Linked DNA regions of Homo sapiens: all the other regions are linked to region 1. The links are contacts of gene promoters, found by promoter capture Hi-C in blood cells and fetal thymus (Javierre and others, 2016). All regions are on one chromosome and are shown on one strand. The core of a region is centred on a gene start or on the middle of the fragment in contact, and the rest is flanking DNA. Distances in the headings are between cores, read along the strand shown.

Evidence for each region. Contacts are between HindIII fragments. The CHiCAGO score rates a contact against its expected background, and 5 or more counts as called.
Region 2: a contact is called between a fragment that was not itself captured here and the fragment with the promoter of HSPA9 in region 1, in 14 of 17 cell types (erythroblasts, naive CD8 T cells, naive CD4 T cells and 11 more). The highest score is 14.4, in erythroblasts.
Region 3: a contact is called between a fragment that was not itself captured here and the fragment with the promoter of HSPA9 in region 1, in 1 of 17 cell types (endothelial precursors). The highest score is 6.5, in endothelial precursors.
Region 4: a contact is called between a fragment that was not itself captured here and the fragment with the promoter of HSPA9 in region 1, in 1 of 17 cell types (endothelial precursors). The highest score is 5.6, in endothelial precursors.
Region 5: a contact is called between a fragment that was not itself captured here and the fragment with the promoter of HSPA9 in region 1, in 1 of 17 cell types (endothelial precursors). The highest score is 6.2, in endothelial precursors.

Annotation. Positions count from the first base shown.
Region 1 is chr5:138,571,450-138,577,800 of GRCh38, forward strand. It overlaps HSPA9 (heat shock protein family A (Hsp70) member 9), which reads right to left and starts at 3,952. Exons shown (of 17, transcript NM_004134.7): 1 at 3,789-3,952; 2 at 2,619-2,677; 3 at 2,314-2,401. The coding sequence starts at 3,869. The region is part of intron 1 of LOC105379193 (a long non-coding RNA gene); the gene reads left to right. RefSeq lists enhancers at 3,533-4,180, 3,697-3,746, 3,987-4,266, 4,181-4,829, 4,407-4,546. The HindIII fragment of the contact is 10,827 bases long and covers 1-6,351 here.
Region 2 is chr5:139,283,032-139,289,382 of GRCh38, forward strand. It overlaps LOC124901081 (a long non-coding RNA gene), which reads right to left. Exons shown (of 4, transcript XR_007058956.1): 2 at 2,217-2,279. SNHG4 (small nucleolar RNA host gene 4) reads left to right here. Exons shown (of 7, transcript NR_182757.1): 7 at 1-1,869. It also overlaps a transcript of MATR3 not described here. Among named protein-coding and RNA genes, the nearest start is that of SNORA74A, 7.4 kb to the left of the region's middle. The HindIII fragment of the contact is 606 bases long and covers 3,490-4,095 here.
Region 3 is chr5:139,210,372-139,216,722 of GRCh38, forward strand. No RefSeq gene overlaps it. Among named protein-coding and RNA genes, the nearest start is that of SIL1, 15 kb to the left of the region's middle. The HindIII fragment of the contact is 3,764 bases long and covers 496-4,259 here.
Region 4 is chr5:139,180,044-139,186,394 of GRCh38, forward strand. All of the region lies in intron 1 of SIL1 (SIL1 nucleotide exchange factor), which reads right to left. Among named protein-coding and RNA genes, the nearest start is that of SIL1, 15 kb to the right of the region's middle. The HindIII fragment of the contact is 1,166 bases long and covers 2,830-3,995 here.
Region 5 is chr5:139,135,039-139,141,389 of GRCh38, forward strand. All of the region lies in intron 1 of SIL1 (SIL1 nucleotide exchange factor), which reads right to left. Among named protein-coding and RNA genes, the nearest start is that of SIL1, 60 kb to the right of the region's middle. The HindIII fragment of the contact is 621 bases long and covers 3,704-4,324 here.

The DNA of each region.
Region 1 (6,351 bases), core at 2,702-5,201:
GTTGCGATACAGGCATGAGCCAATACGCCCAGCCTATTACTGGTATGTTTGCAGCAATCATTTAAGACACAGAAACAGCTCCCAAATTGCGAAACAAATGCACATCAACAATACTACCGGGCATGCTTTACTGCTGATAGTTAATGAACAGTAGATATTTAGTTAAGGTATCTTTAGCCCTTTACTTTCAAACTACTATTTTTTTTTTTTTTTTGAGAGGGAGTCTCGCTCTTGTCACCCAGACTGGAGTGCAGTGGCGCGATCTCGGCTCACTGCAAACTCCCTGTCCTGGGTTCAATTCTCCTACTTCAGCCTCCTGAGTAGCTGGGATTACAGGTGCCTGCCACCACACCCAACTAATTTTGTGTGTGTGTGTGTGTGTGTGTACTTTTAGTAGAGATGGGGTTTTGCCAAGTTGGCCAGGCTGGTCTCGAACTCCTGACCTCAGGCGATCCGCCCACCTTGGCCTCCCAAAATGCTGGGATTACAGGCTTGAGGCACTGCGCCTGGCTTTTTTTTTTTTTTTTGAGACAGAGTCTCACTGTCACCTAGGCTGGAGTGCAGTGGCACTGTCACGGCTCACTGCAGCATTGACCTGCCAGCCTCAGCTGATCCTCCCACCTTAGCCTCCAGAGTAGCTGGGACTACAGGGGCACACCACTATGCCCGGCTAATTTTTTGTAGAGACAGTGTTTTGCTATGTTGCCTAGGGTGATCTTCAACTCCCACACTCAAGTGGCCTCCCCAAGTGTTGGGATTACAGGCATGACCCACCAGGCCTGGCCCTGATTTACATTTTAAAAACTGCTTTGGTTGCTTAAGACTCTTGTCAGGTGAACCTTTGTAGTGCTGATAATTGTATGTATCTAACTTCCCAGAAAAGGATTTAAATGTGGTATAGAGGTAGGACTACTAATTTACTATTAAGAGGGGTGGGAATGGCTTGCACTGTTTGGTTACTCTGGTAACCACCAAAGTGCTGCATTTTCTAAATTGAAACAAAGTTGGGTGTGCAGAGACAGACTAGAAGTGGAGCTTCATCTCTGAAGTAATGCATGTTGTTCATTGGAGCAGGCTATTTCTTTTGAAGCCTCCTTACTCTGTACATGCAACCTTTATTCCCACCGGGTTCTTAGCAAGATTTAGAACACCTGGAATTCTTGACTCTTGCTTCTTCCATTCATGGCCTCTTTTGCTTTCATACTTCCTTTCCCCCCAATCTCCTCTTCTGAAATAACCTGAACTGTCTATGGTCTTCTTATCCCACTTGTTTGGCACCAAGAGATTATTCCTTCTCTTGGCCCTAATTTGGGCTTCTTGGCATTTTTCCTATATGCCTGATATCTGTGGCCAACCCCCCAAAAAACTTAGAAGTAGATATAATTCTCCATGTGGAAGTAAAGATTCTTGTCCCAACATTGGGTATGAAAAACCTGATCTATAGTCTCTTCTTTTTTTTTTTTTGAGACAAAGTCTCGCTCTGTCACCCAGGCTGGAGTACAGTGATGTGATCTTGGCTCACTGCAACCTCCACCTCCTGGGTTCAAGCGATTCTCCTGCCTCAGCCTCCCGAGTAGCGGGGACTACAGGTGTGTGCCACTACGCCCAGCTAATTTTTGTATTTTTAGTAGAGACAGGTTTCACCATGTTGGCCAGAATGGTCTCGATCTCTTGACCTTGTGATCCACCCGCCTTGGCCTCCCAAAGTGCTAGGATTTCAGGTGTGAGCCACTGTACCCGGCCAATTTTTTGCATTTTTAGTAGAGACGGGGTTTCACCATTTTGGCCGGGCTGGTCTTGAACTTGGGACCTCAGGTAATCCACCCCCCTTGGCCTCCCAAAGTGCTGGGACTGCAGGCGTGAGCCATTATGCCCGGTCAGCCCTGATCTATAGTTATGTTTTTGCTGTTTTAGTTGGAAGTACTTCGAGGCCAGGCTTAGTGGTTCACATCTGTAATCCCAGCACTTTGGAGGCCAACGTGGGCGGATCACTTGAGCTCAAGACCAGCCTGGCCAACACAGTGGAACTGTCTCTACTGAAAATACAAAAAATTAGCCAGGAATGGTGGTTCATGCCTGTAATCCCAGCTATGTGGCCAAGGCAGGAGAACTGTTTGAACCCAGGAGGCAGAGGTTGCAGTGAGCGGAGACCGTGCCACTGCACTCCACCATGGGCTATAGAGACTGTCTCCAAAAAAAAAAAAAAAAAAAAAAAAAAAGCGCAAATCAGGTTCTCAAATTCCTTAACTAAGGAAAAGAGCACAGAATTCTGGACAGATTCTGGATAAGGTACTAGTTATCAATCATGCTCACCTTTGCTTGTTTACCTTCCATAACTGCCACGCAGGAGTTGGTAGTACCCAAATCAATACCAACAACTGCTCCCTTGATTGCTTCTGATCTGTAAGACATTTAGAACAGTGTCACAGCTATTGTTATCTTGATAGACCAAAGTCACTGGAAGATAATATTTAATTGGAAAATTAACAGTGGTATACTACATAATCTCTAAATAAATACAGATAAATAATTACAGAGAAGAATAATCACAAATGTAGAAAACACTGCTTTGAAGTTTAATATGTATTCCCTCTCAAAGGAAATGATATTATACTTACGCATAATCCCGCCTTGAAACAAGTCTAAAAGCCTCATGACTAAGGCCATTCCAGCTATCCTAAAAAAGAAAAAACTGACTCAGTCACCAACCAGTGTGTATCCTGGGAGGAAAAAGAGAAAACTTGGGCTCACTTAGTATATAAAATACATTAAGCTACTAAAACAGTAAATATTAAAGTTTCCCAAATAAGTAAGACGAAAAAAGGTAAATAAAAGATGGCCTTAGAATCACATTACAGTAGGATTTCTCAACCGTGGCGCTATTAATTTTGGGCGAAATTTTTGTGGTGGGGGCTGTTCTGTGCATTGTAGGATATACAGCAGCATCCCTGGCCTCGACACCCTAGAAACCAATAAGCACCCCAGTAAGTAAGTGACAACCTAAAATATCCACAGACATTGCCAGATGTCCCCTGGGGGAAAACACTTCCCCTTACCTTGCCGTGCAATTAGTTTAAAAGAACTAGAGTTACTAAGGGTCTTTGAAAGAAAAAAGAAAAGTAGTGGCGTTTCACTAGGATAAAAGACCTTTATTACAACTTAACCTCAGGCTCCTTCCAAGCCTTCCTTAATGCCCACATACAATTCCTGTTCTCTAAAGCATTTGTCTTTTATTTTAGAAAACAAGTAACCACTCCATAGCCTTTTCTCCGCCCCACGATCTGCTTTTTTTTCTGAAGTAACAAACGAGTACAATCTTACACCACAGATTTTGAGAAAATGTTGCTAAGCACGAAAACTGGAGTTCCGACTCAGAGCTTTCTTATTTTATTTCACCGTATCAACGGGATCCTTACACACTCTGTATTCTGTAGAGGAGCCAAAAATAAAACTGAAAATAGTGGCTTTCCCAATAGACTGCATCCCTCACCCCCAAGGCCAAACCTTTCCATTCAGCCACAGAACAGGCCATGAGGACCACTACCTGGTAATTTTGAAATGACACTCTAGATCGCGAGGGGTGTGACTCAGCAGGGCCCAAGCCGGAGGCAAAACCTTGGGCAAAATCTTGACCCGGCAGCGCTAACTATGGAAGGCCCGTTACCTTCCTTCCCGCCTGACCTATACTGGAGAATTCAAACCCTAAAGGGCGCGCGGCCTGCCGCAGCGAAGCCCGAGGCCCAAGGCCCGAGGCCGTGACCCCATTCGGGAAGGTCCCAGTTCCTCACCTGGTGGCGGGCGGCCGTAGGGCCCCGGGAGGCTGCGGCGCCCACGAGACGGGCTGCTGCAGCTCGGCTGGCACTTATCATGGCGGATAAATGGAGGAGTACGAGGCAGCAAACAAGCGCTCCGACGGCAAAGAGCTGCGCGATGCGGTGGCGGCAGCGCTTCTGGAAACCTCCAACCACGTGGGGTGAGGGGCGGGGGTTGGTCACTGCGGCCCAGAGGCCCGCTCTTCCGCTGAGGCGCCGCCCGCGCCGCCTGACCAGAGGATACTCGACTGCCGCTCCCGGAGCCAGGGCGTACAGGTAATATGCTCCGCAGCATGATGGTTGGAGAAAGCCTGCCCTCCTGTCCCGGCTGCGGCGGCTCTGAGCTCAGAAAGAGTCCAGGGGAGGAAGAGGGATATGAAGGCCGTATCTCGGACAGCCCCGGTCCTCGGCGACAGGAAAGACTCAAGGTCACACGGGATAAATTGCGAACCGATTACAGTCTTCTTGCGTCAGTTGCGCGGGAGGAGGAGCCTGTTGGCGCAACAGACATCCAGCTAAGAACCTAGAGCGCATGTGCGCAAGGAGTGGCGGAAAACATGGGTGGAGACTAACTGCGGCGCTCACTGGGTGCCCGAGTGCACGCCAGCGTTCCCTGGGGCGAGCCCGGGCGCGTGCACACCCCCCGGGCGTGGACGTGTTCCCAGCTCCCGCTCCTGGAGGACGGCGCCATCTTGTCTTGTGGCTTTGTGAAGTGAGGACGTCAGTACTTTTGTTGTTTGGTCCCGCCCGTTGTTCACAACTTGAAAGACACTTGGATATGCAGACAGACGTTAAACAATTTCGTGTTGCGTTTTATCACAGGGGTCTTGGGTTTCCAACTACGAAGCGTTTGATTCACACAGAACATTAGGCCAATTAGCCTGCACAAAGGGAAAAAAAAATAGCTGAGCTTGGCCGGGCGCTCACGCCTGTAATCCCAGCACTTTTGGGAGGCCGAAGCGAGCGGATCGCGAGGTTAGGAGATCGAGACCATCCTGGCTAACACGGTGAAACCCCGTCTCTACTGAAAATACGAAAAAGTAGCCGGGCGTGGTGGCAGGCGCTTGTAGTCCCAGCTACTCGGGAGGCTGAGGCAGGAGAACGGCGTGAACCCGGGAGGCGGAGCTTGCAGTGGGCCGAGATCGCGCCACTGCACTCCAGCCTGGGCGACAGAGCGAGACTCCGTCTCAAGAAAAAAAAGAAAAATAGCTGAGCTTCAGGCTCTTCCTCTCCCCACTGTGCTGGGCCTGACTTGAGACTCCTCTGGCCCTTTTTAAACCTTGTGCTGGTGGCAGGATGTCAACTACTTCACTACCCTGTGACCAGTTTTTAGGTTTTTGTTTTTTTTTTTGAGGCAGTCTTTGTCGCCAGGCTTGAGTGCAGTGGCGCCATCTCGGCTCACTGCAACCTCTGACTCCCTGGTTCAAGCTATTCTCCTGCCTCAGCCTCCCAAGTAGATGGGATTACAGGCGCGCGCCACCACGCCCAGCTAATTTTTATATTTTTGGTAGACACCGGGTTTCACCATGTTGGCCAGGATGGTCTCGATCTCCTGACCTCGTGATCTGCCTGCCTCGGCCTCCCAAAGTGCTGGGATTACAGGCGTGAGCCACCGCGCCCAACCCAGTTTTAGATTTTTAAGAAGAGGAATTAATTGATTCAACAGATATGTTTTGGCATGCCTACCGTGTGTCAGTCACTCTCCCAGGTGGTAGGAATACAGCGAAAGCAAAACACGAACGAATGGCTGATGACAGATTGAACTTGATTTTGGAGATGAAGCAATTTGTCCTGGAAGCCCGCTTTCAAAAAAAGAGAAATGTTTCAGACCCCCTATCTCTTCAGGAAGATCTGTATTATTAAGTAGTCACCCCTGGGTGAGGAACTGTGAAGGAAATGTTGGGGAAAGTTGGGGAGGGAAAGAAGCTAACTGAAGAGTTTACATTCTGAGGAGGATGGCAGTGGGAGTAAGAAAATAAACAAAAGTCTAACGTAACATGGGTTATAGATTATATAGATTCTAAAAGTTTTTAAAAAGCCTCCCACACACTCTTAACTGTCAGCTATTACTATATTATCCTCACTAGTTACTTAACACTTCATTTCTCTTGTTTTTAGTTCTCTCAGAAGGCAGGGGTGGCCAGGCGGTGGCTCACGCCTGTAATCCCAGCACTTTGGGAGGCCGAGGTGGGAGGATCACTTGAACCCAGGAGTTCGAGATCAGCCTGAGCGACAGAGTGAGACTCCATCTTTAGCCTCTGTCGCCCAGGCTGCAGTGTAGTGGTGCAGTCTCAGCTTACTGCAGCCTCCACCTCTCTGGGCTCAGATGATTCCAGTGCCGCCTCAGCGCCCCCCTCCCCCGAGTAGCTGGGATTACAGACATGCGGCACTACGCCTGGCTAATTTTTGTATTTTTCGTAGAGACGGGGTTTCGCCTTGTTGCCCAGGCTGGTCTCCAACTCCTGAACTCAAGGGATCCGCCCGCCTCGGCATCCCAAATGCTGGAATTACAGGCGTGAGCCACTGCGGCCGGCCAATT
Region 2 (6,351 bases), core at 2,543-5,042, 710 kb after region 1:
GTGGTCTTACTTTATTCTGTCATGTAGAGAATAGTGGTTGAGCCTGTTGTCTTTTGAGAGTGGATGCTGTAGTCCTTACATGGCTGACTTTCAGCCCGTAAGCTTATAGTAGAGGATGGGGATTTTGTTATCAGCTGCTAAAAGGGAGAAGCCAAGCCCAGAACTAAGGGTTCTGATGAGTTGAAGGAGAGGGAAGATGCCCCTCAAGGCAAAGAGCCTCTGAGTTAGAATCTGTGCTTCACCAGAGTGACAATGGTAGAACTTCTCCTTCTCAGTATTAATTCTCCTGGAGAGAACTCTAGGGTTGTCTAAACCTGTTCAACTAGGCTGACTACCCCAGCAAGTGATGGGTTGGACATAAGGCAAAGAACAGGAGGGGTGAAAGGGGGCAGAACAGACAAGTTCTGTCCCAGCCTCTGCTACCTCTAACCCCATGGCATTCTATCCTTTTCTACACTGGGCTTCCATTTCTTACCCCAACAATGATCTGTTCTTCCAGGTGCCGTCATTTAATTTCCCAGACACTTGACCTCCTTCTGATTTGTGTACTCCCTCCAAGGCTGAGTTGCAGTGAGTGACAATAATCTGTGCTAATTACTTATCTTGCCAGAAGACTCAAAGGGTTTATGGCTTTTACTAACTGAACTCTATGCTAGATGTTAGGGATAAATGGTTAACAGGACACAGTTCTTGCTTATCTTGCTATGGTCTGTCAAGCCTTATACAATCTAGCCTTATCTCTCTCACCGTCTTATCTTTATCACCCGTAGATTCCCTTGTTGGCCACTGGTTTCTTTCAGTCCTTAATTAGCCTTTTGTCACTACCTGTCTACACATGCTGTTTTTCCCTTCTCATTCCATCTTGACATTGTCTATTTTGAGATCTCAGCTCAGTTGCAGAGAAGCTGCCTTCCCCATCTGGCAACCCATTATATGTGTCATAGTACCATGTTGTACCATAGAGCTAGACACAGGTGCCATGTTGTGTCTTGAAATGTATTCACCAGCTTCCAAAGGTTTACCTCAATCCCCTTTACTCAAGAAGCCTCAGTTCTACTGACAGTTGGTAATAATAACCTCTCTGTCATAATGTACCCAAAATAGAGTAAGAATATCATGCTTTTCAGTAATACTCCAGTGAATGAGGCTAAGAGTACCATTTTTGTTCTTATAAAAGAATTTTTTTGGACATGAATACAAAGATGTCAGGTTACCAAATCATTTGCTAGTAGATCCTAACAATATCACCTATAGGAAACTGAACGTAGCCTTTAAACATTAAGTGATGATAATGGATTTGGCCGGGCGCGGTTGCCTATAATCCCAACACTGAGAGGCTGAGGTGGGTGGATCACTTGAGGCCAGGACAGGACCAGCATGGCCAACATGGTGAAACCCCGTCTCTACAAAAGAAAAAAATACAAAAATTAGCTGGGTGTTGTGGTGTATGCCTGTAATCCCAACTATTTGGGTGGCTGAGGCACGAGAATCGCTTGAACTTGGAAGGCAGAGGTTGCAGTGAGCTGAGATCGTGCCACTGCACTCCAGCCTGGGTGACAGACTGAGACAGTCTCAAAAAAAAAAAAAGAAAATAATGGATTTGCAGAGACTTGCTATTTAGATTTCAGACATCTGTTAACTAAAACACATGTGTAGGCTTTTGTTACTTATTTCAGTAATCTGTAAATATCTTTATATTTGAGAAAATTTGTGAGACATCTTTGTGTAAATTATAACTTGAAGAACCTCTCTTACAAGCAGGCATATTGGTAAGTAGCTGCGAGGATATAACTTATAACCAGATTGAAGTGTATAATTATAATATGTTATTATTCTGGGGTTCTATAAAAAATAAAATCTTTGAATCTATGATTTTTTGTCATTAGGGTATACTTTGGGACATGTGGCGCCATAGAATATCAACACTATTTACTACATGTTGACCATGTTAAATACATTTAACACATCTCTTTTTTCAACAGCCCTACAAGGTACATGTTACTTGCCCAAAGTCACAGTCACACGAGAACTTGTGTGGTGCTGAATGAATCTGGCTCCAAAAGTACTGTTTGGTTTAGGAGCTTTCATGTATAGTGCCCTCAAGTCTTGTAAATTTCTGCTTCTTCAATCATCAACCTCGTTCAATCTAACATCTTGAAGGAACTACTCAAATGTCTTACTTACAGATTCTTACAACTATTTCAAATGCCAAATACCTTGTTTCAGATGGTCAACATCTTGGCTACTCTTGCTGTAGTGTGCAGTGGGTTCTGTTTGTCCTAACAGAACAAAACATAGTCTTTTAGATTTTTAAAAAATATTCCTCTGGAAAGCCTTAATGAATGCCACATTCTAATCCCTAGTCTTGCCCCATGATATGATTTATCACTTTTTATTAAAATTCCTCAATGCTTGCCCTGTTGTGTCTTGAAGAAACTGTGGGCCAGAATAAGAATTTCAAGACATTTTTAAAATTTTTATTTGAGACAGAATCTCGCTCTACTGGTGGCACAGGCCTCTACTCCCAGTTACTTGGGAGGCTGAGGCAGGAGAATTATTTGAACCTGGGAGGTGGAGGTTGCAATGAGCCAAGATTGCACCATTGCACTCCAGCCTGGTCAATAAGAGTGAAACTCCGTCTCAAAAAAAAGAATTAAATGAGATCAGGAAAACAAGACATGAACAATATGAAGTTCAACAAACAGAAATCATTAAAAAGAACCAAATTCTGGAGCTAGAGAACACAATGACTAAATTGGAAAATTCCACAGACGTTTCAACAACAGACTCAAAAAAAGAATCAATGAACTTGAGACAGATCACTTGAAATTAGTCAGAGGAAAAAAAAATGAAAAAGTGAAGCCTATGGGACACCATCAGGTGAACCCATATACGCACTTTGGGTATTTCAGAAAGAGCAGAATAAAGGGCAGAAAGTTTACTTAAAGGAAACTTCCCCAATCTAGAGAGACAAATGAATATCCAGATCCAAGAACCCCAAATATATTAAAGATATCTTGACCAGGACACATTATAATTAAACTCTCAAAAGACAGAGTTTTGAAATTCATATATAACCTTTTCAAAAACTCCTTTGTAAGACCTGACCCCATCCTCTTGCCACTGCTAGAAGAGCAGCTACTGGTTAAGTTTTCTGTTTTTAAGTAGCCTTAAAAAATGACCTGGTTCCAGGGCATTAAAACTGTCCCAGTAGATTTCTGAGGTGTCAACTCTGCTGCAGACAGCATAACATTCAAAGGCTCTGCATTTGTCTCTAGCTGCAAGATCATAGGCAATCTTCTTTTTAAAAGCTATTTATTTATTATAAAATAGAAATGGGGTCTCACTGTGTTGATCAGGCTGGTCTCGAACTGCCCTCAAGTAATCCTCCCACCTCGGCCTCCCAAAGTGCTATGATTACAGGTGTGAGCCACTGTGCCTGGACTTTTTAATTTTATTATTTATTTCTGTAGACCTCCTCTGTGGACAAGCTTCTTGATATCTTATGTGAAATAGGAATAATGGTACGTTGGCCAGGCACAGTGGCTCACACCTGTAATCCCAGCACTTTGGGAGGCTGAGGCGGGCAAATCGCTTGAGGTCAGGAGTACAAGACCAGCCTAGCCAACTTGGTGAAATCCCATCTTTACTAAAAATACAAAAATTAGCCAAGCTGGTGGCACGGGCCTGTAATCCCAGTTACTTGGGAGGCTGAGGCAGGAGAATTGCTTGAACCTGGGAGGCGGAGGTTGCAGTGAGCCAAGATCATGCCACTATACTCCAGCCCGGGCAAGAGAGCCAGACTCCGTCTCAAAAAAAAAAAAAAGGAATAATGGTAATTAAAATGTGTTATCAACTGCTTAGTAGAGCATGTAAATAGTGGTCTATTCTGCTAGACTCCTGAGCTCCATGAGAGCAGAGACCTTTTATTTTGTTTTATTTTGTTTACTATTATGTACTGGCAAGTGCCTAGTATACAATAGTAATAAATAGTCTCTCAAATATTAGTTGGCTGCTGAATATCAAATGGTTGACCTCAAAGGTGTGAATTCCATAATTCCATTTTGTCGTCTTTTAGGACTTTTACCTTTGTCAAGCTTAATTTTCTCATCAAAAGAAATTTCAAGAAAAATGTCATTGATGACAGGACTCCTCATATTCACATAATATATTTTAATGGATTTTGTGGTGTCAAAGTATATGTCCCCAATCTTTTCTTGCTTTTTCCTCTACTCAAAATTGGAAAAGGTCCTCATTATAATCTCAAATCCATACTCTATTCTGGCATTGAAAGTTTCATTACAGGGCTGGGAGAGGAGGCTCACGCCTGTAATCCTACCACTTTGGGAGGCCAAGGCGGGTGGATCACCTGAGGTCAGGAGTTCGAGACCAGCCTGGCCAATGTGGCGAAACCCCATCTCTACTAAAAGTACAAAAATTAGCTGGACATGTTGGCGCGCACCTGTAATCCCAGCTACTCAGAAGGCTGAGGCAGGAGAATCGCCTGAACCCGGTGGGCGGAGGTTGCCGTGAGCCAAGATTGCGCCATTGCACACTAGCCTGGGCAACGAGCAAAACTCCGTCTCTAAAAAAAAAAAAGTTTCATCATTAAGCTGTACCAAACTTGTCACTTAGACCTTTCAAAGTCTCACCAGCAATTCTTGCTTTGAAAGGCCCCATTCTTTACCATTCCTGATGCACACCCACTCCCACACCCAAATGTGAATACAGCTTTTTACCCATGCCTGCTCACAAACAGGCCCACTTTGAGGTCAAACTCCTTGTCAATCTCCATCAAACCAAGATCCTAAGGGCTGGAAGTTTGTCTTTTCCATCATTGTAGAATGTCCTTCATGAAATAGGCATTTGATGAATGAAATCTTGCATTAATTTTGGTGGCCGGGCATGGTGGCTCACACCTCTAATCCCAGTACTTTGGGAGGCCAAGGCAGCCAGATCACATAAGCCCAGGAGTTCGACACCAGCCTAGGCAACATAATGAAACCCCGTCTCTACAAAAAATACCAAAAAAAAATTAGCTGGGTTTGGCGGCGCGCTTCTGTAGTCCCAGGTACTCGGAGGCTGAGGTGAAGGAACACTTGAGCCCAGGAAATCAAGGCTACAGTGAGCCAAGATGGCACTAGTGCACTCCAGCCTGGGAAACACGAGACCCTGTCTCAAAAAACAAACAAACCAACAAACAAAAACCAAACTTTTTTTCCTTTGTGTCTTTTTGCTGATAAGCCCCTAAGCACCTGTTATATTTCTTTTGAATCTCCCACATCATCACTAAGTTCCTCAATAAATAATTACTTCGTTGAAAAAGTTTGACTTTCTCTGCACGATCACCAGATGGCATTAGAACCTTATGCAAACATGGGTAGGTGTGTATCTGAACTGAGATTTGATAGGCAGTCATGTTTCTGTCTGCCAAAGGACCAGAGGCTGTTGTTTCATCTAATAGTTGAGAACAAGATCAGTTGGAATCAGACTTGCAGAGTAGAAAGCAGATCAGCTTTTGAGTGGAAGACTCAAGAGTCACTGAAAAGTAAGATTCCCTCCAAAAAAATTTTGTCTTTCCAAAGCTAGCTACATGGTGGGTTTAAACATCATCTCTTTTTTTTTTTGAGACGGAGTCTCACTCTGTCGCCCAGGCTGGAGTGCAGTGGCACAATCTCAGCTCACTGCAAGCTCCGCCTCCTGGGTTCACGCCATTCTCCTGCCTCAACCTCCCGAGTAGCTGGGACTACAGGTGCCTGCCACCACGCCCAGCTAATTTTTTTTGTATTTTTAGTAGAGACAGGGTTTCACCATGTCAGAAAGGATGGTCTCGATCTGACCTCATGATCCACCCGCCTCAACCTCCCAAAGTGCTGGGATTACAGGCATGAGCCACCACGCCCGGCCACACCCAGCTAATTTTTGGATTTTTAGTAGAGACATGGTTTCATCATGTTGGCCAGGTTGGTCTTGAACTCCTGACCTTGTGATTTGCCCGTCTCAGCCTCCCAAAGTGCTAGGATTACAGGCGTGAGCCACCACACCCGGCCAACATCATGAGGGAAGCCCCAGCCCTTGATGAATCCTACCAAATTCCTTTTCCAAGCCTGTCAAATGATTGGCCTCAAAGATGTGAATCACATTTTGTAAGCTTTGCTCAAACCTTTGAAAAACAGAAAATAACATACAGATGTAAGATTGCAGTTCCACTTTCACAATGGCTATTTAAACATTTTCCTTGCCTGGGCGTGGTGGCACACCCCTGTAAGTCCCAGTACTTGGGAGGCTGAGGAAGGAGGATAGCTTATAGCCCAGGAATTAGAGGCTACAGTGAGCCACAATCAAGCTACT
Region 3 (6,351 bases), core at 1,128-3,627, 640 kb after region 1:
TGTCACCCAGGCTGGAGCGCAGTGGCAGGATCTCAGCTTACTGCAGCCTCTGCCTCCTGGGATCAAGCGATTCTCCTGCCTCAGCCCCCTGAGTAGCTGGCATTACAGGTGTGCGCCACCATGCCCAGCTAATTTTGTATTTTTAGTGAGAAGAGACGGGGTTTTGCCATGTTGGCTAAGCTGGTCTCAAGTTCCTGACCTCAAGTGATCTGCCTGCCTTGGCCTCCAAAAATGCTGGGATTATAGGTGTGAGCCACCTCACCTGGCCAAAAAGAGAATTTATTGACTCATGCACAGTTATCCATGGCTTAATGACTGGGATATGTTCTGAGAAATGTCTTTACGCAATTTTGTCCTTGTGCAAACATCATAAAGTGTATTCACACAAATCTAGATGGTATAGCCCAGGGGTCCTCAACCATGGACTGGTACCAGTCCATGGCCTGTGAGAAACCGGGCCTCACAGCAGGAGGTAAGCAGCAGGTGAGCAAGCAAAGCTTCTTCTGTATTTACAGCCCCTCCCCAATTGCTCACATTACTGCCTGAGCTCCGCCTCTTGTCAGATCAGCTGCAGCATTAGATTCTCACAGGAGCACGAACCATATTGTGAACTGTGCATGTGAGGGATGTAGGTTGTGTGCTCTTTATAAGCATCTGACTAATGCCTGATGATCTGAGGGGGAACGGTTTCACCCTGAAACCATTGCTACCCCCCATACTGCCACCCTACTCCCCACATCCGTGGAAAAATTGTCTTCCATGAAACCATCCATGGAGCCAAAAAGGCTGGGGACCACTGGTATAGCCTACTACACACCTAGGCTATACAGTCTAGTCTATGCTCCTAGGCTACAAATCTGTACAGCGTGTTACTATACTGATTACTGTAGGCAATTGTAACACAATGGTAAGTATTTGCGTATCTAAACATATCTAAACAGAGGACCGGGCTCGGTGGCTCACACCTGTAATCCCAGCACTTTGGGAGACCAAGGCGGGCGGATCACCTGAGGTCAGGAACTCAAGACCAGCCTGGCCAACATGGTGAAACCCTGTCTCTACTAAAAATACAAAATTAGCCAGGTGTGGTGGCGCCTGCCTGTAATCCCAGTTACTCGGAGGCTGAGACAGGAAAATCACCTGAGCCCGGGAGGCGGAGGTTGCAGTGAGCCGAGATTACGCCACTTCACTCCAGTCTGGGTGACAGAGCGAGACTCCATCTCAAAAAAAAAAAACCAAAAATAAAAAAATTAGCCAGGCATGGTGGCACACACCTGTAATTGCAGCTACTCAGGAGGCTGAGGCACAAGAATCGCTTGAACCGGGGAGGGAGATGTTGCAGTGAGCCGAGATTGCGCCACTGCACTCCAGCCTGGGTGGCAGAGTGAGACTGTGTCTCAAAAAAAAAAAAATTAAAATTAAAAATATCTACACATAGAAAAGGTACAGTGAAACTATTGTAGTATAATCTTATGGAATGACCATCGCATATGTGATCCGTTATTGACCAAAACATCATTACATGGTGCATGACTGTAATTGAAAAGTCCACGGGTAACATGTTGACCTTCAAGCAGAGGTGGATTCGGAGCTCCAGCTTAACGTGATATACAGACTTTCAGTTCTAAAACCAGGAAAGTCCCAGGCAAACTGGGACAATTAATTACTGTAGCTCCAATGTGTAAACAGGTCTTGGTGTCTCCATTTCTTGGCTCTGCTTTCAGCTGAGTTGGATAATTCAGTCTCCGGATCTACACATAGCAAGACAGGACAGCAGCTCCAGACCCTATATTCTCTCAAGTTGGAGTCCTGAAAGAAAGGAACTAGTTTGCTTCCCTCATGACTCCAAAGAATTAGAGTGGGTCTTACTGGCTGTCATTAGTCTACTTGAGACATATGTCCACTGTTTTATTTTATCTGGTTTAGTTTTTTAAATTGAGATATAATTCACATTCCATAAAATTCATCTTTTTAAAGTATGCAATTCAGTAGTTTTTAATATATTCACAATGTTGTATGATTATCACCACTATCTAATTCCAAAACATTTCTATCACCCTAAAGAGAAACTCTAGGCCAAGTACAGTGGCTTACACCTGTAATCCCAGCATTTTGGGAGGCCAAGGCAGGCAGACAACTTGAGCCCAGGAGTTTGAGACCAGCCTGAACAACATAAGAAACCCCTTCCCTATAAAAAATACAAAAATTAGCTGGACATGGTGGCGAGTGCCTATGGTCCCAGCTACTCCAGAGGCTGAAGTGGGAGGAGTGCTTGAGCCTGGGAGGCAGAAATGGCAGTTAGCCACTGCACTCCACCCTGGGCGACAGAGCCAAACCCTGTCTCAAAAAAAAAAGAAACCCTATACTCAGTAACAGCCACTACCCATTCCCCCTCCTTCCAGTGCCTGGCTACCACTAATCTTTCTGTCTCCACAGGTTTGCCTATTCTAGATATTTCATATAAATTGAATCAAATAATATATGGCCTTTTGTGTCTGTCCTCTTTCGCTTAGCATAATGTTTATAAGGTTCATCCATGTTGTAACATGAATCAGTACTTTATTCCTTTTTATTGCTGAATAATAGCCCATTGTATGAATATAAAAAAGTTGTACATGAATGTTCATAGCAGCATTCTGATGCCAAGTGGTAGATAGTTGGGTTGCTTCCACTTTTTGACTATTATGAATAATGCTGCTATGAGCATTCATATACACTTGACCCTTGAACAACACAAGTTTGAATTGCAAGGATCCACTTATATGCAGATTTTTTTTACCAAATGCAAATTGAAAATACAGTATTCGCAGGATGTGAAACCTGAGTATATGGAGGGCTGACTTTTTGTATACTCAGGCTCTGCAGAGCCAACTGCAGGACTTGAGTTTGCATGGATTTTGGTGTACTTGGGCGTCTGGAACTAATCCTTTGCATACACTGAGTGTTGATCATACAAGGTTACCTAGAAGTGGAATTGCTGGATTGTACGGTAACTCTGTGTATGTCCCCATTCTTGAACCAATCACTGTGGCCTAAGAATAGAATGGTATGAATGATTTAAACCTAAGTCACAGGTTCTTTTTTGTTTGTTTGTTTGTTTGTTTTTTTGAGCCGGAGTCTCGCTCTGTCGCCCAGGCTGGAGTGCAGTGGCGCGATCTCTGCTCACTGCAAGCTCCGCCTCCCGGGTTCACGCCATTCTCCTGCTTCAGCCTCCCGAGTAGCTGGGACTACAGGCGCCCGCCACCGCGCCCGGCTAATTTTTTGTATTTTTAGTAGAGACGGGGTTTCATCGTGTTAGCCAGAATGGTCTCCATCTCCTGACCTCGTGATCCACCCGCCTCGGCCTCCCAACGTGCTGGAATTACAGGCGTGAGCCACCGCGCCCGGCCTTGTTTGTTTGTTTTTTAAAGACAGGGTCTCACTTTGTTGCTCAGGCTGGAGTGCAGTGGCACAATCTTGGCTCACTGCAACCTCTTCCTCCCAGGTTCAAGTGATTCTCATGCCTCAGCCACCTGAGTAGCTAGGATTACAGGCATGTACCACCACACCCAGCTAATTTTTGTATATTTAGTAGAGACAGGGTTTTGCCATGTTGGCCAGGCTAGTCTCAAACTTCTGGCCTCAAGTGATCCACCTGGCCCAGCTTCCCAAAGTGCTAGAATTACAGGTGTGAGCTACTGCACCCAGCTTACGCCACATGTTCTACTCCTGATGCTGAGGATGGAGTCAGTTTCATTAGGACCACATGGAATGAAAAGAAAATGATGGTTCACCAGGAAGAAATGGGGTACAGTTATCAGATGGAGGATGAATGGAATCTAGGCAGCAAATCTACAGATGGTCATTGCAAATTGCCATATTAATTGAATGCTCACTATGAGCCCGGCACTGTGTTAAGTACATGCATTATCTCATGTGACCTTTACGACAGCCTCATAAGGATTCTATTATTCTATTACTCCCCTACAGATGCAGAAACTGAGCTCAGAAAAGTTGAATAAGTTGTCCAAGTTTATATAGCTGAAAATTGAGTGTTTGAACCCAGGTCTGATGCAAAGTGTCAGAGAAAAACAGATCTTGAGTTAGGCTAAAATATACCTGCTAAAGCGTCTTTTGCATCATTTGCCCAATATTTTTATAATCATTGGGGAAGAGTCTGTGTAACCACAAATTTCCTTTCACACCAAGGACAAGGAAGAACAGGTTTTTATCAAGAAAAAAATCATAGTTGACATTTTTTCCCTTTAGATTTCCAAGTAAGCTTCCCAATTTTGTCAGATATCACATTATTGGCATTGAGATTAAGCAGCTATATTTCTCAGAAAGTCTCCATGCTTTTTGTCACCACTCATCTTTTTCTAACAGGCCTAGAAATTCAGCTAAATTCTGCTTGTCATGTGATTAGGAAGTGCAGAACTCCACACCATGCTCATAACCTCCTCCAGAAATGATTTACAAGAGCTCTTCTGTAGTCCTCATGATGAGGGCCTGGGGCTAGGGATCTCTGACTCCCTACTCTCTACTCCTGTGGACCAGAACCCCAATGATGTGAGATGGATGGGACAGAAGATGTGAGGCAACCAAAGAGTTGAAGAATATAAGAAGTTGCATTTCATTGCCACCACCCGCCACCAATTCCGAAATGTCAGTCCTTAGAGCATCACAGGAGAATAACCTCATATTAAACTGTATACTGTATTAAGCTTCATACTAAGCTGCAAGCGTTAGCACCACACCGACTCCTCCTTGAGAGACCCCATCCCACTACCCCTCCTCCCTAGTACACACACATCACCATCAAAGCAACTTGCATCCCAAACCCTTGAAAGATTTACTGCCAGTACTGCAGACAAATCAGTGAATACCCGGCAGTCGATTCCAAAGACAGGATGCTCATTTGCATGAGGAGTTGCATGTCATTTGCATTATATTTGCAATCCATTTGCATATCACGTCTGCCCTGTCAAAATGTACATAAATGCTTTATACTTTCACTTTTTTTATTTTCTAAAGAGGACTACGCCCCCGCATCCTGCCCAGACTGTCTGGGAAAATTACTGGTTGAGTATTCCCAGCTTAATTGTGAAGAGCCTCACGTGCCATACTGAGGCGATTTCAAACTGTGGAAGAGCCCCAAGGATGTCAGAACCTAGCTTGAGAAACTTCATTCATTCATTTATTCAACATGTCTTTATTGAACACTTACGATGTGCACTGTTGTTCTAGGTGCTGCAGATATATCTGTAAATAATGAGATGAAAATAGTTGCAGCATTAAAAGTTAAATGCTGTCATTTCAGAAAATCACTTGGCACCAACCCAATCAATACATAATACAAGTGCAAAAAAAAAAAGGCACTAAAATTTCCTGAAAGTGCTTGGTTATAAGGTCATCCGGTGTTACAGACTATGCTTATGTCGTTATTACTATTTTGTTAAGATTAATCCTGGCCGGGCATGGTGACTCAGCCTGTAATCCCAGCGCTTTGGGAGGCCAAGGTGGGAAGATTACTTGGGCTCAGAAGTTCGAGACCAGCCTAGGCAACATGGCAAAACCACGTCTCTACAAAAAATACAAAAATTAGCCAGGTGTGGCTGTGCCTGTAGTCCCAGCTACTCTGGAGACTGAGGCAGGAGGATCACTTGAGCAGGGGAGGTCAAGGCTGCAGTGAGCCATGATCCTGCTACTGCATTCCTGCCTAGGCAACAGGGCAAGACCCTGTCTCAAAAAAAAAAACAAAACAAAAGATTAATCCTGAAATTAAAACAAATAGTAAGCTCCTTATTTTTTTCTTTTCTTTTCTTTTTAAAATAGAAACAGGGCCTCACTATGTTGCCCAGGCTGGTGTCAAACTCCTGGGCTCAAGTGATCCTCCCACCTCGGCCTCCCAAAGTGTTGGGATTACAGGCGTGAGCCATTGTGTCCAGCCAGTAAACTTCTTAAAGTTTACTCAAGACACCTGAGAATGTGTCCCCAAGGGATCCAGGAACTCCAAGTTTGAGAAACACCAATTAAGGATCCATTAAACAATTTAAATAGGGAAATAGCCTGGGTTTACATCTTAGATCACTCTGCAGCCATGTGGAGGGAGCATTGGAAGGGGTGGAAGGCCAGAGGCAGATAAACCAGTAAAAGGCTTCAATAATCTAGGTGTGACTCAGATGTGGGACTGTCCACACTGTCAGCCTCATAAATCCTGTGGCCCCTTCACTGATGTCCATCTGAAATCAAGTCACACCACACACTGGATGGCTTCAGAAGTTTTCAGTGAAAATTTGTACAGTCATGGGGGGTTCATAACATACATTGTTTCAATCGAAAATTCAGCTTTGAGGCAGTCGCAGTGGTTCA
Region 4 (6,351 bases), core at 2,163-4,662, 610 kb after region 1:
AGACCCTGTCTCTTTAAAAAAAAAAAAAAAAAAAAGTTGGCCAGGCACGGTGGCTCATGCTTGTAATCCCAGCACTTTGGGAGACCGAGGTGGGTGGATCACTTGAGGCCAGGCGTTCGAGACCCAGGAGTTCAAGACCAGCCTGACCAACATGGGGAAACCTCATCTCTACTAAAAACACAAAAAAATTAGCCAGGCATAGTGGTGTGCACCTGTAATCCCAGCTACTTGGGACGCTGAAGCAGGAGAATCACATGAAACCAGGAGGTGAAGATTGCAGTGAGCCGAGATCACGCCATTGCAATCCAGCCTGGGCAACAAGAGCAAAACTCCATCTCAAAAAAAAAAAAAAAAAAAAAAAAATCATACCCAGCTTTGCCTGAATCAGACTTTTTTCTCCTACCCCAATGCTGCCTTTGTGGGTCATCTATTAGCCCCACTCTGCTCCTCACCCCTTTACCACCACCTTCCTAACCAGAATTGGGAATGTAGCTCCTGGTAAGCTCTCTGGCAAAGAAAAGTCTGTCTTCCATGAGCACAACCCACCACAATTGATACATACAAAACTGAGATGCACCACCACTTCCTAGGTTTGGAGCACAGTTTGTTGTAGGGAGCAAAATTCATCATCTGCAACTATGGGCATGAGGCTGGATTTTCTGAAAACCCAAAATGAGACCACAGTGATGAAGTCTCTGCATTTCCCAGAACCCACAGCTCTGGGCACTAGTATGGTATTCCTGCAGTGTAGCATGCCTTAAACCAAAGGATGGTGTGCTCCATCACACCATCAGAAAGACAGTACCTGCAGGGTAGACAATCCCAGCTGAAGTCTCCATAGCTCCTCTAGCTAGGCAGAGAGGGTAGCAACTCCATACCTGAGTCACCTGCCTCTACACAGCATCTTCTGCAAGGTTAAGCAGCCATTCATTGTGCTGTAGTTCAAGGTTAACCCTTCCCCCTGCACTCATTTCAGGATCTGCCTCTTATCAAAACCTATGCCAGCTGATTATTATAATGATAACTATTATGCCATTATAATAACATTATTGTGCTTTTTTTCTGCACTTGACATCTGTTGGCTGATAGGTTTAAACAGTACATAAGCAATAATTATGCAGTGCTCTCTCCTTTCCAACCAAGCCTCTAGTGTGACTCTTAATGTTACATCCAACTGCAATAAATGCCCAGCCCGAGCAGCAGTGGGAAACATGGCTCATCTGGGTTCACCCACCATGCCTCTAGTCACAGTGCCAGAAACAGAGGCTCAACTAGGTCCCTAATTGTTAACATGCTCCCCTGCTCTCCCAGGGATTTGGGGGAAATACTACCCAGCAAGCAATTTATTGTTGAAAACCCCCGCAGGGCTGGAGGAGTTATATACAAGTCTCAGTACTGCAGAGGGACAAGCAGTACCAAATCACAACAGCACACACCATCACAAGAGAAGAAGCACAGGAAAATGCATTCCTCCACTGGGAGTTCTCAAACAAATGATTTCCAGAGAGTCATTCTGCCTGGTTCCCCACACACAGTTCTTGGCAATTGCTGGTAAAATTGGCAGAAGGGAGAGGAGGGGTAGGACTATCTCCAGGCTTCTATTTTGAAGTTGAGAAATCACTAAACTGGCTGCTCAGCCTTCTTTATAGGACCCGCCAGAGTCCAGGATAGAGTCTGGAGGCCAAAGCAGAGAAGTCCCACCTCCTGTCAGCCAAAGCCCTTGCATCTACCTTTCACACTGTTGATGACAATCAAGGTAGAAAAAAGATGTGAGATTCTTTAACTGCAGACTATCAATATGCCTGAATTACACATTAGCCCTATTAAAGTAAAGGCAACCCATAGCAAGGCTTCACTAAAAAATGATGTTAAAACAAACCTCGCCAGGGGACCAGGGCTGGCCTGTTTTGTTTTCTACACTGTAATACACAGTTTTTGTTTTTTTGGTTTTTTTTAAGGCAGAGAAGGGGGTGGAAGGTTATTTGAATTTAAACGAGCAGTAAACACTATAATCTGTGTGCAAGGAGAAAAGGAACATTCAGAAGTGCCAAGTGCAGCCTCTTGGGACATGTGTGGCCAGGGCAGTAGTAGCCCGGGGGGCTTTCTCCTTCAGCCTCAACACGCTGCTCTCATTGCTTGGGAGCAGGCAAGCCAGCAGGCAAGGTCCACGCAGCACAAAAAGGCACTGTTCCCTAGGTCTAAGGAGAAGATTGCCCTCTCAGAAGGAAATTAATATGACGCAACACGGAATGAGCAGGGCGAGTCATCCACAGAAGTCACCTATCTAAGGAGGGGGTTTGAAGAGGTGTTACTCAAGGCATGGACCACATCTGTCTCATTCATCACTGTATTTCCAGGGCTAAGCAGGTCCTGGCACACAATGGGTACTCAGCAAATAATGGTGGACTGAATGGTAACCAGAAAGAACCCTTAGGTTGGAAGCCACTGACAAGAGCTAGAATCTAACTGTTCCTATTGTAACCTGTGGTAACAAAAGAGCCGTGGACGGCAAAGAATATATAAAGGGAGCCAAGAGAATAAAAATGAGTCTATCTCCAGTACCTGGTGCCTTAATAGACTGACAAGTGTATTCTGGTCAGATTACAATATAGCCCTAGAAGGACAAAGTGGGAAGGAGAAAAGGGGAAGAGGGAAGAGTGAGAAACAAGTGAGACAAAACATTTATTGAGTGCTTACCATGTATATATCTGAAAAACCCAGGGGGTTTCACAGCTGAGGACACAGGAGCAGGGGGGTTGAGTAGCTCCTCTGAAGTCTCACAGCTGTTACATGGTTTAAATCTGGGTGTATCTGATGCTATGACCCAAAAGCTTGCCACCATAATTTGCCTTGGTTTCCTCCAGAGGGGAGCTGGCTTCCCAGCTAATCTCTCCTACAGAGGAGAGATGCTCTTACATGTCCACATAAATCAACTTAGTCGTCATGTTTATTGGAGTTAGTTAACTGGAACTGTGACTTGATGGTCTCTTATGAATTTCACATGCCTGAGGCAGGCCCCCAGGAACTGAAACCTGGATGAACTAACTAAGTTTACAGGCCTGCAAAGCTGCACACCAGTAAGGTCCTAAGTCATCAGCTTTCTAGGGCAAACCTCTCTGGCCCGGCACAGGTCAGGTCTGGGTAAGGAAAGAACCTAAGCATGACCTCTACATGCCCCCAAGTTCTCCTCAGAAATTACAAAGAAGCCTTCCCTACTCCATGCTATGTCAGCCATACACAGAATTCTATTTGAAGGCTTTAAATTCTGATTTAAGTAGGACTAACAGAAGTAAAAAGCCAAGGATTTCTGCATGGTCCTTAGAAGCAAATGAGCCTTCCCTCCATGTCCATGGTGCTCCTGCCTCCCCGGAGTTTCCAGAGACCTTCCACACCCATGATGTCAGGTGCAGCAGAGTAGAAAGGGCAAGGTGATTTTCCATATTCTATTCAGAAGAGACCAGAGGTGAGAATCAGCCAGTGCTCCTAATGGAGGTGAATACCCTGGACAAACTCAGAGGCAGCTTAGGTTGTACTAAAAAACATTTTCAAGGTTGTCTGTTTATTGCACCTCCTGTATGAGGGCTTTCATCAGTTAAAATGGGTTTTTTCAAAGCACAGGGAAGCGGATGATTCACCCAGGTGCACAACAGCTGCTGGGAAGACCTGTGGGAAGAGGCCACCCGGCAAAGGCAGGCTGTGTATGGTAAGAAGGGTCTCCAAGGAATGCCCTACATGCCAAGCCACATGCTGTCAGGATATTAATCCAAACCCATCTTGCACACTTTACAATGTTTACTCTCTCTGGGATGTGGAGCATTAAATTATATCCAAGGACTACACAAGTCCTTCCAATTCTATTCCACACTCACTTCTTTGCTAAAAAGATTTGTAACCTGGAAACAAAGCCCTCTGCCTAATAGCAGCAATAACTCTCCGCAAAGAATAGGAAGCCAGACTGTCAGTTCAAACTCTCCTAAAAGGTATTGCCCCATTGAAGCTTTAGTTTAGGTTTCTCCAAAAAGTGGAGAAACCTACTACTGATCCCCTTTTTCCAGAGAGGACAGGCCTGTGTAACTAAGCATCCTGAAAGGAGGGTTCAAACCAAAAGAGGAAAGAGGAATCACCACCACTCCATTCCTGCCCTAACTGCAATGGTCCTGGAAATGGTAAAGAATTCCAAAGAGGACTGCCTCATTGCTACAAGAACTAAGAACAAGGTACATTAATAGGAGACAAAGCTACCTGGATTAGTCACAGCCCTACTCTGGCTAGCAGTATGACCCTAAATGGGTCATTTAGACTCTCCGAGCCTCAATATTTTACCACCATAAAATGGGGGTGTTGTGTGGCCAGGCACAGTGGCTCATTCTTATAATCCCAGCACTTTGGGAGGTCAAGGTGGAAGGATCGCTTGAGGCCAGGAGTTCAAGACCAGCCTCGGAAACATAGCAAAACCCCATCTCTACAAAAAAATTTTAAAAAATTAGCCAGGCATGGTGGCACATGCCTATAGTCCCAGCTCAGGAGGCTGAGGTGGGAGGATATCTTGAGCCCAAGATTTTGAGGTTGCAGTGAGCTACGATCACACCACTGTTACTCCAGCCTGGGTGTGAGTGAGATGTTGTCTCTAAAAAAACTACAACTAAAAAATAAATAAATGGGGATGTCATAAGAATCAGACTGAAAACAGTAAAATTTGAAAACAGTAAAATATTGCACATACTTTACACCTGATTGTTATTCCAAAGACCCCTGCATGAGAAACCCTAGGACATTTCTAGGGAGCAGAGAGGCCAAGCTGTCACATCTGAGAGGCAGTCTACAGCGACTGGGTCCAGTTGTTTACAGAGAAATCCATATGTCAGGAATAAAGTGAGGACAGAGTAAAATTTGAAGAGAAGACCACACATGGGTCTGCTCAGCTACATTTAAAAAATAACAATACAGCAGGTCTCCAAATAACATTGCTTCGATCAACATTATTTCCTTATAACACCGACGAGAAAAAAATAATTGTTTCCCAGCCAGGGCCACTGCTTGTGTGGAGTCTGCTTATTCTCCCCATGTCTGTGTGGGTTTTCTCCAAGTCCTCAGTCACCTTCCACATCCCGAAGACGTGCCTGTTAGGTTCACTGTTGCGTGTAAGGGGTCCAGTCTGCATGAGTGTCAGGGTGTGTGAGTGTACCTTGAAATGGGATGGCATCCTGTCCAAGGCTGGTTCCTGCCTGGTGCCCTGAGCTGCCGGGATGGGCTCTGGCCACCCAAGACCCTGAACTAATAGGGTAGTAATTATCTCACTTGTTTTTGTTAATCCTTCTTAAAGGAATGTATAGCTCACATTTATCTCAGTTTTTAATATTAGAAGTGTTTTGGTCTTTATTTAGAAGTTTGGTCATGTTTCTGTAACAAGAAATATTCTGTAGGAACTTAACTCTTGTTTATACCAATGAGCCATAGTAAAATTGGTTTTGTATACATTTCACTTAAAGTCACAGTTTCCAAGAACTTATGACCGATGTCAAGTGAGGACTTACTGTATATGCATATGTTTCAAATTTGAAAAGGCACACAAAGACATATAGTGAAAAGTAAGTCTCCCTCCTTCCCAATTCTCTAGTTACCCAGGGCCTCTCACTAGAGACAAACTGCACTGCTTTCAGTTTCTCATGTAGTCTGCCCGAGATATCCCAGGCAGCTAATTTCTACTGGAGATGGGGATATCATTTGTGGCAACACTCTCAGACCTAGAAGGTGATGCCAGGCAAGTAAGCACTGCTGGGGCACTTAGGGACTATGAAAAAAATGAGACAGCCAGAGGATAAGATATCACCTTGCAAAAGGTTCCATGGAGATGCAGACTTCCTTCTGGCTATTATACTGTTTTGCCCCTTGGCTGACCACATTTAAGCAGTGATTCTGTACAATGTATTTCCCTTTTAGTTGTATTTGTTCACCCAGAGCTCTTTCTCAGAGATGTCATTAACAGAAGTGGCCTCTGGGACCTTATGCTGCACCAGCCTGACCACCAGGCCCTTCAAAGTAGCCAGAAGCAGGAACAACTATCAAACCTGCCTCAGTGGAAGCTGAGCAAAAGGGCAAAAAGTGCAAAAGTTCTTGAGTCACCACCTTTCTAGGGACAAAAGTTGCTTTTCATAGCCCAGTGAAATCAGAATATAAGGGAGGATAAAGCCCAGACCATAGATGTTCTACAGGGCCGAACCCAAGAGATTAAGTCACTACCCACAGAAAATCATAGGACACTTTTATCTAAAGATAGGCTTTCACCAAACGCCCTCAAAAGTTTTCAAGCTATGTCCTCCCCTCCCCCACCTTTATTATTTTACAAGGAAT
Region 5 (6,351 bases), core at 2,764-5,263, 560 kb after region 1:
AAGAATAATTTGAAGGACAAGAAAAACAAGTTTGTAATAGTCAGGCAAACAAGCTTTTCCCGCCTGAGACAATACTAAACAGAAAGTCAAGAGGCAGACAGCAATTAAATGGAAAGTCTTTGAACAGCAAAACAAATGTGGCTTCTAACTAGTCCAGCCCCCAGCTGGCAAGGTGGCTGGACTGGAACATCCCTGAGCCAGTGGCCATTTGTACAATGGGGATAATATCTCCCCTATGTTTTGAAGTCATGCCTAGGGCCAAGCAAAGAGGGACTGCTCTCAACAAACCCAAGGCACCCAAGAAAAAAGGTTATTAGAGGAGGCTGTTGGAGGGTAGAGGGTTCACAATGGATCCAAGCCTCTGCCTAACCAGAGAGCTACAAAGAGCTACAGAGAGCTACAAAATCCACCGTGCAGCCTGCAAGGGAGAACAGTGGCAGTACAGATGTTAGCCCTGCCAGAGGGCACAGGGAGCCAAGAAGGGCTCCACAGGCCCAGCTGGGAATAGGCACCTGGAAGGAAGACAACATGGGATGGGATGAAATGGGAAGGGCAGTGAGGAGCATTCCTAGCCCTTTCTCTGTACTCCCAGAGGTGGAACACGACCTACTCCATTCCCACTCCAGTAGAGAAGAATACAGATCTTCAAGAAGGGAGCTAAACAAACTAGCAAAAAAAAAAAAAAAAAACTGCAATCACAGCGACAAAAGTTAGTGCATCCAATGAAAAGAAATCACATGACACAATCGGGCATGGTGGCTCACACCTGTAATCCCAGTACTTTGGGAGGCCAAGGCAGGCAGATCACTTGAGGTCAGGAGCTCGAGACCAGCCTGGCCAACATGGCAAAACCCCATCTCTACTAAAAATACAAAAAAATTAGCCGGGTGTCATGGTGCACGCCTGTAATCCCAGCTACTCGGGAGGCTGAGACAGGAGAATCTCTTGAACCTAGGAAGCAGAGGTTGCAGTGAGCCGAGATCATGCCTCTGCACTCTAGCCTGGGTGACAGAGTGAGGCTCTGTCTCAAAATTAGAAAAAAAAGAAATCACATGACAAGCAGAGTGACTGAATAAAAAGCCTAGCCTGGCCCTCTCCAGATCTCTCCTACTTGGCCACAGCTTGCAAAGAATCTGAATGCTAGAAGTGAGCTTAAGGCTCAATCTTTATTTGGACTGCTAAAGACCCAGAAGACATGGCAGGCACTCAATACCTACATAGAGAACAATTGGAATTCAATGCCATTAGGCGTGGAACTTATCAATGGATCCAGGAAGGCTGTGGCAACCTCATACCTGTTGAAGACGAAGAGGTAGACAGGGCTAAGGCAGGGCAAGAGTTTCAGTGCTATCAACACAGAGGTGATCATCAAAGCAACAGGAGCAGAGCGACTATCTTTCTAGGGAGAAACCTTAGAGAGAAAAGGACAGCGGACCAAGCATAGTCTTCAACTCATGGCTGCACGTTAGGAAAAGGGAGCAAGCAAGGAAACCAGAGGAGCAGCCACATGATTAGTGCAGACCTACACAGGTCAAAAGAGTGGAGAATCCTGAGAAAATCCAGTTGTAGGCAACAATGTCAGGAGATCAGTCACTGGATTTGGCAATGAGGCAGTCAGAGGGCCCTTCAAAAGAGTGTCCACAGATGAAGACATAGAGGCACAAGGGTAGGCCACTCCAAAAGGCTCAATGGGTCCACTAAATTTTGAAGATTTGAGGCCACATTTCTAAATGTGATTTTTCAACATTTCACTAAAGTCTTAATGAGAAAAGAGAAAAAAAAATTCCTCCATGGGTGCAACAGAGGGATTCTTCAATACCATACATAAGTTCCTATGATTGATGAAGAGCTACCCCACAACACACATGACCTCAGGACAATGATGGGCATCAGTCACTCCAGCAGAAGGAGGGGGCAGGGAGGTAAAATTTCTAAGAAGAAACTCCCATCAGACACAATTCTACCTTCTCTGGGCTCTCAGCCATGCCTCAGACTGCCCGGAGGCTTTAGTCCTTCCACTTTGTGGAAATGTAATAATAACTCCGCCATGGCGGAGACAGAGAAATACCCTAGTGCCACCCCTTCCCCCAGCATTCAAATATACTATCTGGGCATCCCAGAGGAAAATTAATTCTGTCAAATAATAATTATAGTCAACATTTATAGAGAACTTTCCATGTTGCAAGCAAAGTATTAGTTCATTTACTCTTCACGACAACCCTCTGAGGTGGTTCCAATATGCTGCTCATTTTACCCATGAGGGGACCAAAATTCAGAGAGGTTAAGTAACGTGCCAGAGTTCATGCAGCCACAGAGCAGTAGAGTCAGAATTCAAAGCCAGTTTGGCCCCAAAGCCATGCTCTTTCCATAGCCGTGCTGTCTCTCGAGGGGTCTGTGAAATCAGCCACAGAAACTGGACTCATCATTTTATTTGTTCTGCAACAGTATAAATAAAAAGGCACATTTTGTGTCAGGACAGAAATTTTTTTTTTAATTTTATTATTATTATACTTTAAGTTTTAGGGTACATGTGCACAATGTGCAGGTTTGTTACATATGTATGCATGTGCAATGTTGGTGTGCTGCACCCATTAACTCGTCATTTAGCATTAGGTATATCTCCTAATGCTATCCCTCCCCCCTCCCCCAACCCCACAACAGTCCCCGGTGTGTGATGTTCCCCTTCCTGTGTCCATGTGTTCTCATTGTTCAATTCCCACCTCTGAATGGGTGCTGGGAAAACTGGCTAGCCATATGTAGAAAGGACAGAAATTTTTAAATGAGCCTACTGGGGCCCTCTTGTGGAAAGACCCACCTCTACCATGTTCTAGTTTCTGCACCACACACAAACACACACCACACACACGCGCACACACACACATACCACACACAGGCACCTTGATTACTAAATGCCCTTGGCACAGACCAGCCAAGGCATAGGCACAGGCATTCAGGAAGAAGAAATCCCTTGACTCAGATTGCAGCCAGGCTTCCTTTGTGACTTGATCCCTTAAACTCCTATCACTCAAGCTTCCTAGCTATACACGAAGCAAAAGCATCCCTGCTCCCCTTCATGGAGCCCAGTGCCAGGCACACACACACATATACACACACACACACACACAAACCACAACCACACACACCACGTATATACACACACCCAACTGTCTGGCAAGAACTTGACACCTCGCCCCTCCATGCAGAAAATACACAAGACAGAAGTATTTCTACATGGCAGACAAAGACGGAGTCTTCTTTGGTGAATGGGGCTTGCCTAAGCATACCAGCAGTTGACCAGATGAATCAGAGGAATACTCAGGTCCTAGTCTGTACTTTCCAGTAGGTCCTAGACTGTAAGCTCCTAGCAAGATACAGACAAGGGGACCTACTCCTTATACCTGATCCTTGACCCTGCCTGAGGTACCGGGAGTGATCAGCCCATGTCTGATAACAACCAAGGTTACAAGAAGCTCCATTCCCTTCCAACCCACTACAGTGTAATAGGAAGAATGCAGGCTCTGGATTTTGAGCCAAGTCTCCCCTACTAGCTGTGTGACTTTGGGCCAGATGCTTAACCTCTACAAGTTTCAACCCCTTCATCTATAAGAGGACTTGATAGTAACTATTTAGTATGACTGTCTATATTAAATGAGATGACATAGAGCATATAGCACAGTGCCTGACACAAAATGAGGGCTCATAAAGCTTATAGCTCTCACTACTATTATTAGAGAAAATTCTGAGCAAAGAATAGGATAAGCAAAAGCAGCGAGGGCTTCACCCCCATACAGAACTGTCTTCTGTTCTGACAACCAAGCCCCTCTTTGGAGACTAGCTTCCCTGAGCCACAAGTCAGCCCACACACCTGGACTATACTCTGGGTGGTTACAGACACATTTCCATTGAAACCTTTAAGCGATGCTGGCTGGCTCTGCATCAGTGCCAGCTGACTGACATCAAACACTTCAGAGTCCCGCTTCCTGATGACTCAGGCCTGTCTCCAAATTCCTGCTGCCACTCTCCTACCTCTAAGGGGGAGTCAGGGAGAGTAGGAACAGCCGGGGCAAATGCAGCTGACCTAGACTGCTGGGACCACTGTAGACAGATGCAGCTAGCATCCAGGGACTAAGGGTCCCAGGGCTTTTCTTCCCTCCCCTTTTAAAATAGTAACTGGATCTCCTGACAGTATGTGCGATGGGCTTTCTCTATAGCCTGCTCCCAAAGAACACCAGGGACTTTCACACCACAGTCATCCAGATACCACGGTCAGGGTTCGAGGGGAGGAGAGATCAGAATTCATCTTTCCTTTCCCCTGATGTCTCTAAGCTTCCAGAAAACATCAGGGCCTCTTAAAGGGGCTAAAATAGGGAAGAAGGTATGATTTCCAGTCCATAGTTCTAAAGGAACTATCTGCTAACTGGTAAGTACAATTTGTTTGCCATTTCTATTGCAAGCATTCAGCACTCACACTCTAAAAGCAAATACCACACAAAGATAATTTCAGCATTAATGTCAGTTCCTTGAGCACACTGGGCACCATACTATGGAACAGAATATACAAAAGATATTGTCACTTGCCTCAGGTGGATGATGTCCTGTTCACATTCAGTGGATAATGTGGCCTTCCACATCTTAGTCTCAGACAGCATAATTATTAAAAAGAAAAGGACAGGCGCAGTGGCTCACACCTGTAATCCTAGCATTTTGGGAGGCTGAGGCAGGTGGATCACATGAGGTCAGGAGTTCAAGACCAGCCTGGCCAACATGGTGAAACCTCATCTCTACTAAAAAATACAAAAACTAGTTGGGGCCGGGCATGGTGGCTTACACCTGTAATCCCAAAACTTTGGGAGGCTGAGGCAGGTGGATCACCCGAGGTCAGGAGTTCAAGACCAGCCTGGCCAACATGGTGAAACCTCATCTCTACTAAAAAATACAAAAATTAGTTGAGGCTGGGTGCAGTGGCTCATGCCTGTAATCCCAGAACTTTGGGAGGCCGAGGCAGGTGGATCACTTGAGGCAGAAGTTCAAGACTAGCCTGGCCAACACGGTGAAACCCCGTCTCTACTAAAAATACAAAAATTAGCCAGGTGTGGTGATGGGTGCCTGTAATCCCAGCTACTCGGGAGCCTGAGGCAAGAGAATTGCTTGAGCCTGGGAGGCGGAGGTTGCAGTGAGCCGAGATCGAGCCACTGCCCTCCAGCCTGGGCGACAGAGCAAGACTCTGTCTCAAAAAAAAAAAAAAGACACTAATTACAACTTTGTAATAATGAGCTAGGCAATAATTAGGGTACTCCTTAAACTAATTGGGGAGCCCCAAGAAAATAGCATTTACTTACAGAAACACTTAGCAACAATACGAGGATGGGTCACCAAGCACAGGACTTGCTACTACCATGTTGGTATCAACTATGTCTTCCAGGTAAGTCAGCAACTGCAACATTTTATTTTTAACATGCCTGAGAGCCCAAGACTATTTATAATACCAGATCCTTAAAAACTTGAAAGGGAGATGAATTTTAAAATGTACACATTTACATATGTGGGCAGAAACACAAAAATCAGATGCCTCTCAACACAGCTCAGGGAGCCATAACTCACGGCTTTCACAATCCCACCGAATGCCCAGAGAAAATCCGGGCACCTTCTACAAGGGATGGTAGGAAGCTGGGTAGGTAGCCAAGAAACAAAGAAACCTAAACTCAGTACTTGGCAGGACAATTAAGGAGCAGAGGATTTTAAATGCATTGTTTCTGACTCTAAATATGGCTACATTTATTACCAATTTGGGATCAGAAACCACATTTAGTTCTGTCATGACCACATGCTAAAAATATTAAGCAGAGTATTGCCTAGGAAACAGCAGTTCTCCCTGCTGCGGCAGCTCCACTTCAGAGCCATCTCTGCCATGGTCACAGGGTTTCCATCCTGTGCTTTGCTGAGAGCACAGTTACAAGCAGAACTGACACTGTCCTGCCAAGACGTCCCCCCGCATTTTAGAAGGCAGCAATAGGAACCAGAGCTAGGGACTGCACAAACTCCTCATCCTCTCCAGGGCTGTTTTAGGTGTCAGTGAAGCTCTATTTCATAGGCCTATAACTAGAATCCATCTGACTGGGAGCTCCACAGCGGGAGGGACAATTGTCTGTGTAACATACCACTGTCTCCTCATTGCCCAGCACTTTTCCTGGCACTCAAAAAATAGCCATTGATTTAATAAAATCAATAATCTAAAAAGAACCATTTGGAAGAGTACAATGGAAAATAACACTGCCATTAAAATAGGTAAAAATATGGACTGTGGTAATACATAAAAACAGGTGCTGGCCAGGCACAATGGTTCACACCTGT